2 separate regions of the Homo sapiens genome follow, and region 1 is linked to region 2. The links are contacts of gene promoters, found by promoter capture Hi-C in blood cells and fetal thymus (Javierre and others, 2016). All regions are on one chromosome and are shown on one strand. The core of a region is centred on a gene start or on the middle of the fragment in contact, and the rest is flanking DNA. Distances in the headings are between cores, read along the strand shown.

The links. Contacts are between HindIII fragments. The CHiCAGO score rates a contact against its expected background, and 5 or more counts as called.
Region 1: a contact is called between a fragment that was not itself captured here and the fragment with the promoter of GJB6 in region 2, in 9 of 17 cell types (M0 macrophages, naive CD4 T cells, fetal thymus and 6 more). The highest score is 13.3, in M0 macrophages.

What each region holds. Positions count from the first base shown.
Region 1 is chr13:20,486,309-20,489,806 of GRCh38, reverse strand. CRYL1 (crystallin lambda 1) reads left to right here. Exons shown (of 8, transcript NM_015974.3): 3 at 311-437. Among named protein-coding and RNA genes, the nearest start is that of CRYL1, 38 kb to the left of the region's middle. The HindIII fragment of the contact is 839 bases long and covers 831-1,669 here.
Region 2 is chr13:20,230,320-20,233,979 of GRCh38, reverse strand. It overlaps GJB6 (gap junction protein beta 6), which reads left to right and starts at 1,661. Exons shown (of 5, transcript NM_001110219.3): 1 at 1,661-1,786; 2 at 2,475-2,598; 3 at 3,173-3,282. The HindIII fragment of the contact is 2,257 bases long and covers 1-2,256 here.

The DNA.
Region 1 (3,498 bases), core at 1-2,500, 260 kb before region 2:
ATTTTGGGTTTATACCCAGAAGTTGAATTGCTGGATCATACTGTAATTCTGTTTTTGGGAACTGCCATATCTGTTTTCCATAGCGGTTGCACCATTTTACAGTCTCACCAGCAGTGCACAATGGTTCCAGTTTCTCCACATCCTTGCCAACAATTGCTAGTTTCTATTTTTGGTAGCCCCTAATGGGTGTGAGGTGGTATCTCACTGTGGTTCTGCTTGGCATTTCCCTGATGATTCCTGATGTTGGGCTTTATCTGTTTTTAAATGTGGTGTTGAATACTCACAGTGATCCTTCTCTCTGCCTTTCCAGAAAGGAGATGAAGTTGCTGGAGCAGGCAGGTTCTCTGAAAGGCTCCCTGAGTGTGGAAGAGCAGCTGTCACTCATCAGTGGTTGTCCCAATATCCAAGAAGCAGTAGAGGGTGCCATGCACATTCAGGTGAGTGAAGGACACTGGCGCCGCATCTGTGGGGCCTGAGACATTGTCTCCCAGCCTCTCCGGAGGAACAGGGCAGGATACAGAGCAGTGGCAGGTGTGGGCATTTTGCATCTTCAAGGGCAGGATTTTGTTTTATGTGATAGGAAATGTGATCCCCAAAACACCCTCTATCCTGGGTTCTCATCAAACTAGCGTGACAATGTTCTGTTTCAAGAGACCAATGCCTTATCCGTGAGGCCACTAGGGATTCTGGTGACAATGTTGTATTTTAGAGGCATTAACAGTTTTAGCAAAAATAGGTTTTCTGGACTGCTAATACTATTTTATTTTGTTTTATCATCTTATCAAATGACAGATTATATTATTGTTCTCATATGTAATTGAGCAAAAGCTTACATCATCAAAAAGAAAACCTTTCACTTGCATGTAGCCTTTCCAACAACTTTACTTTAAAAAAGAGAAATCCTCATGAGGGTTGTTTGCACAGCGGGATGAGCCTGGAGAGGTGAGTGGTCCCTGCAGGTGGAGCTGGGAGCAGCCCCTGTGGCTTGGCCCTCTTTCCAGGCATCCCGCTCCTGGAGCTCCTGTGCCCACGCACAGGCCCTGCCCTGTTGAAGAATCCTGAGGCATACCCTTGTCTTTTCAAAGGCTGCACTTACTGCTATAAGGTTTATGCAAATTTACCTAAAGCTAAAAGAGTCATTATTCCCAGTATCTTTCCTTGATATTTTGTGTTCTGAGATTTGCACATTTCACGTCGTTACTCTGTTGATATTCTAGCTGAGAATTTGGAAGCAAACCGAAAAGGCTGTGTGTGTTCTCTGGTCATTTCCTGCTCTAAGATTCGGGTCAAATACAGAAGATGGAGATTTTAGGTCTCTATGACTCTAAAATTTCTTAAAATTGTTAAATTCTCAATTTGCTAAAAATTCATTAAACAAATGTGTGTCACAACAGAACACAAGGAGAGGACTGTTTTTCAACTTCTTATCTCTTTCTAATATATTATCCTCTATCTCTTGATATGGTGAAGTTTGTATGAAGTTGAAGGGACTTTAAAGAGACCTGAGGGCTCCTAATGAGTTCCCAGTGCCACCTGTTTCTACCCGTAGTTGCAGGTGCTATAAGAGGAGTTGCTTCTGAAGAGCACAGATGTTCTCCAGGCCTGGTCTTGGCAGAGTTGCTTCTGAAGAGCACAGATGCTCTCCAGGCCTGGTCTTGGCAGAGAAGCTTCTTTCACATGAATTTAGTTTTATTTTTTATTTTTTTGAGACAGAGTCACTCTGTTGGCCCAGGCTGGAGTGCAGTGGTGTGATCTCGGCTCATTGCAGCCTCCACTTCCTGGATTCAAGCGATTCTCCTGTCTCAGCCTGTGGAGTGGCTGGGATTACAAGTGTGCACCACCACACCCAGCTAATTTTTGCAGTTTTAGTAGAGACAGGGTTTCACCATGTTAGCCAGGCTGGTCTCAAACTCCTGACCTCAAGTGATCCGCTGGCCTTGGCCTCTCGAAGTGCTGGGATTACAGGCGTGAGCCACGGTAAACTGCATGAGTTAAGTTTTTTTTGCTTTTTGTTTTTTGTTTTTTTTTGAGATAGAGTCTCGCTCTGTCACCCAGGCTGGAGTTCAGTAGTGTGATCTTGGCTCATTGCAACCTCCGCCTCCTGGGTTCAAGCGATTCTTGAGCCTCAGCCTCCCAAGTAGCTTGGATTATAGGCATAAACCACTGTTCCCAGCCGTGAGTTTAGTTTTTAAGGAAAGTATTTAGTTATATAATGTGATTGAAATATTAATAAGTGATCTATTATTATAATATTTCTACTTTCACATTTCACAGAATGCTTTTGTTCAAACTCTGGGCTGATATCTCCAACTTCAGCATGTTTGTCTTCATTACAATCACTTTTTGAGTCTCTCTGAACAGAGTTCCCAGACCATGTTACCTTTGCCTCTTGGAGATGTTTGCTATGCAGAGCTTTTTGAACCCATCTACAATGCTGGCACTGCAAATTTTATCCCCAGCCTCAAAGACTAATTCTCAAACATTTAGATGTTTTTTCCTTTTGTAATAATACACTTGTGATTCCATAGCATGGCAACTTGCTGTGCTTTTTTTTTTCTTTTAAAGAATCTTTCTATAGCTACTTTATAAATTTCCTAGCAGTAACAATTGTAAAGTCATCCCCTAGGAATAATTCATCTATCCATGTTAAATTTCTTTGTCTCCCCATCCCATTTTTTTGATAGTTTATCATATGATTTCTATAAACATCCAAAACTACCCTAACTGAATTAGTTCTGGTTAATGTGTCTCCCTCAAAGAGTATATTGTTTTTTATAAAGTGGTGAACCCTCCATAATATGAGAACATTATAATAGACTTGGGTAATAAGGCAAGTTTTTCTGTTAAAGAGTAATTTGGGGGGAATATGTGAATTTAGAAGGCATGTAAAGCACTTACATAGTACTTGGCACACAGAAAATGCTCAGGAAATGGTAATTATTTTATAATGTGGCCATTTATAACAATTTTGGTAATAAAGAATGACATGGGGCAGTATATGGCGTTCTGTACATGGTTGGCACTAGTGAAAACTGCTCTTTAACTACAGTCTATCTTTATTTTATAGATTAAATGAGTGTATTTACAAGGCATGACATGTTGAGCCATATCTATTATGTAGAACACAGAGCCAAGCCGGATGAGGAGAGGAAACTAGAGAAAGATGATGTAAACTAGTAGGTTTAATTCCTATGAGAGTTTATATTCTTCAGAAATTGTTGTACCTCCAGTACCAGAGAAAGGAGTGGGTAGGAATAGTTCTGACCGGGAGGCTTCGGGAAGGTTTAATGCAGGTAGGATTAGAGCTTGTCTTGACTTTTGACAAGTGGATTTTGGGGTGGGGGTGGGAGGATTGTGTGGGAGGAAGAGATGAATGAGATGAGAAGTCCCTTTGAGGATGTTTCTAAGGCCACGTTACAGACCCATTGGAAAGGTAGGAAAGGCTGGTCCAAGGTGGAAACCAAGTCGCCATGCTACGAATGCCAACCTGAAGAATTA
Region 2 (3,660 bases), core at 412-2,911:
AAACTGTTTATAATCCCCAAAGAAGTTTACAATCTGCTTAGAAAAATTATTTTACTATGCAAACAGCTGAGCCTGGCTGAAGCATCTGTTTGGGAGAGGAATGGAGAGAAGACTGGGAAGTCCACAGTTAGATTGTGTGGGGCAGGACAGAGCACCCAAGATTTACCGCATAGGGCACATCTGGGCAGTGTGAGGATGTCTAACAAAAAAGCCTAGAGATGCTCGGCGCGGTGGCTCACGCCTGTAATCCCAGCACTTTGGGAGGCTGAGGCAGGTGGATCACCTGAGGTCAGGAGCTCCAGACCAGCCTGGCCAACATGGTGAAACCCAGCTCTACTAAAAATACAAAACCTAGCCAGGCATGGTGGTGCGGGCCTGTAATCCCAGCGACTCGGGAAGCTGAGGCAGGAGAATCACTTGAACCCGGGAGGCAGAGGTTGCAATGAGCTGAGATCACACCACCACACTCCAGCCTGGGCAACAGAGCCAGACTTAGTCAAAATAAATAAATAAATAAATAAATAAATAAATAAATAAATAAATTTAAAAAGCCTAGAGATTTCTGTGTCTCTCCACTCTCCAAGTTCAAGGCCATTTCAGGGGCCTCCCCAAAGTTTTTAAAACTTGACTTGGGCAAATTCTTTAAGAACCTTGTTCTCCTCAAATAAAATATTTTGGAAAGCGGATTTTTATGAAGTCTTGGCTCAAATTCCATGACCTTTAACAGACATCTTAATTGTTTCGTGGGAGAATATGACCCAACAAGTGGCATATGGTTTAGGTGGGGACGTTTAATTACCGAACAGTTTTGTAGAATAAGCAAGTCACACATCTTTTGTCCGATGCGTGACAGGTTTGAACCTGTAAAGCCAGGTGCCTAAATAGCTTCCAACGTTTCCACCCCACCAGCCCTTGCACCACTCCCTGTACTGGCCCTGAGCTTTCTAGTCTTGACTGAAAAGCGGGGAGGCAATGTGGTCTCTCCTGGTGCACTGTCCCGAGGAAGGCCTGCTCCGCTTCCCCGGAGGAGTCTTCAAAGGATGGAGGTAATTAATAAAAACAACCCCTGTACCTCCTCTAAGTGGTCATTAATTAATAAAGAACCTCCAGGCTCCTATAGGAGAGGTCTGTGCACCCCGCGGGCTATGAGAAGGCTGGATCACCCAGAAAGACTGAGGATGTGTCCTGGCAAAAACACAGCCTGCCCCTCACACTGCTCCCCACGGGTGCACTAGGGAGGAAGAGTTCCCTCGAGGGCCTGAGCAGGCGCCCCACACCTGCACCCGTGCAGAGGGGGCTGGGCCCGCCCTCTGCGCTCCCGAGGGAGAGCCCTACCCCCTGCATCCCCGGTACCCCGTTCCCTCCAAGGGCCGGAAAGAGGGCCCCGCGCACTGTGCACTTCTTAGGGGTCCCCCACCCTGCGCCCCCGCCACGGGAAAAAGGTCCCCGCTCTGCGCATCCGGCCCCGGAGGGACAGCCCCGGTCCTGCACTCCTTGCTCCTCAGGGGGACGGTCCGCGCCCAGCGGCTAGTGCGCCCCGGGTAGGTGGGGGCGGGGGGCTCGTCGAGTGACAGCGCTCGCCTCCCGCAGCCCGCCCGAGCCGCGTCAGGGCAGAGGCGGGGTGGGGCGCGGTTAAAAGGCGCAGCAGGTGGGAGCCGGGGCCTTCACCCGAAACCCGACGAGAGCCCGACAGCCGGCGGCGCCCGAGCCCGACCTGCCTGCCCAGCCGGAGCGAAGGGCGCCGCCCCGCGCAGAGCCCGCGCCAGGGCCGCCGGCCGCAGAGCAGGTAAGCGGGCGCGGACCGGCTGGGTCTTGCGGGGGGCGAGCGGGCGGTGCCACCTCGGCCCCCCAGCGGAGGAATTTCCTCCAAGAAAACAAAACAGGTGAGGTCGGCGGCTGGTCCCCACCTCGCCCCTGTCGCTCCTGTCTGGCACCGGATCAGAGCCGGCAGAGCGCGGCCGGGATGGGTGTCTGGCCGCACGTGGGGCGACCGGGCCCCCGATCTGCCTCTATCCGCACCCTCCTGTCCACGCGCCCCGGCCCCGGCCCGATGGCAGTGGGCGCCGCCCGCGCTGGACCCTCTCTCTGTACGCAGAGGAACGAGGATGGACTGGTTTGACTTTTACCCCAGCGTGGTCCCCTTTGACTTGTACAACAGGTTTTATGAAGGTTTCATATCGTGTGTCTAAGAGGCCAGAGTGAGGGCCGGTGCCCCTTTCCCCCGTTTCATTTGCTGCGTGTTGGATTTTCTAAGCTTTTGTGGGTCACCGGGGTGTCCCCTTGGATTTGGGGAGAAGAAAGCCAGGTCTAGGATGCGGGTTTCAGTTCAGACAAACCCTCAACTTGGGCCGATGCATAAGTCCCCGGAGAACCGCAGGGTATGGGCTGCGTGATGGGCTTCCGAGAAACTTGTGAAATGCTGATGACAATAGCGTGGACGACAGTAATTAAAAGTAATTGGCGACACATCTTAGTTAAAACGTGCAGGCACCAGAAGGCACTTCCTGTCGGTGAAGAAGACCTGTCTCCGGTGTCACGGGCATCCTGTGTTTTGCAAACGGGGCTGACCTCCCTTCCTGGGGAGCAGGAAGGGTCAGGGTGAGTGTGGCCTGCCCGCAGCTCTGCACTCCCGGAGGGGTTAGGGACCTGCAACCAGGCGGGGACACTGGCCCAGCGACCTCAGTGTCCCCTGGGTGGGCGTGCACTCTGTTTAGTGTCTGATTGAACGTAACCGTGCCGGGTTGTTCTTTTCCCTCAAGTAGACTTTATGCCATACAGCTATTTTCTTGCCCCAGTTCTAGCAGAATCTAACCAGTGTTCTAGAAGAAAATGTCCTGCCCCCATGCAGTCTCCTTAGAATTGCAGGGTGCTGCTCAGAACTGCTCCTGTGGAGAGCTTTGTCTGTTGTTTGGATCCAGCAGCGTCTTTGGGGGTGTTGCTTGAAGCTTGCCAAGGAGGAGAGGGGGGTTCTGAAGAGAGAACACCAGGGCTCTAGCCTGTCACATAACTGGGGGTGTGGAGAGCGCCTCATTGCCACTGCAGTGACTAAAGCTGGGAAGACGCTGGTCAGTTCACCTGCCCCACTGGTTGTTTTTTAAACAAATTCTGATACAGGTAATGATGACTTTATGCTTTTTTTCTTATGTCTTCTCTTCTGAATTCTGAGTGTTAGGAAGGAAAAGAAGTACAGAAGATCTGGCTAAACAATTTCTGTATGGCGAAAGAAAAATTCTAACTTGTACGCCCTCTTCATGCATCTTTAATTCAATTTGAATATTCCAGGTGCTGTGAGCAGTTTGCATATATTAGTTTAAATGTTAAATGGGATAAAATTGTGGGAAAGTGATTTCTGACCCAAGCTTCTTGGTCTGTGAGGGCATAACCTTCTAATGGCCACCTGCCATAGGTTATGATTTCTGTTTTAGTTGCTTAGTGCATGAGCATAGACCTGGAACCCCAGAGGGCCTGCTCCATTTTTATTCCCAGGGTCATTTAAATCTAGTTGAGCTTAAATGTTTGGAAAGGACACAGGTTTGCTTGAATGAACAAACATATATTGCTAACAAGACCCAGAGAAGGAAAGTTTAACTTAATGGAAATTAATTTTTAACTCTTTGAATTCTTAAATGATGTAAGAAACATACGTAATTGCATGAGTTT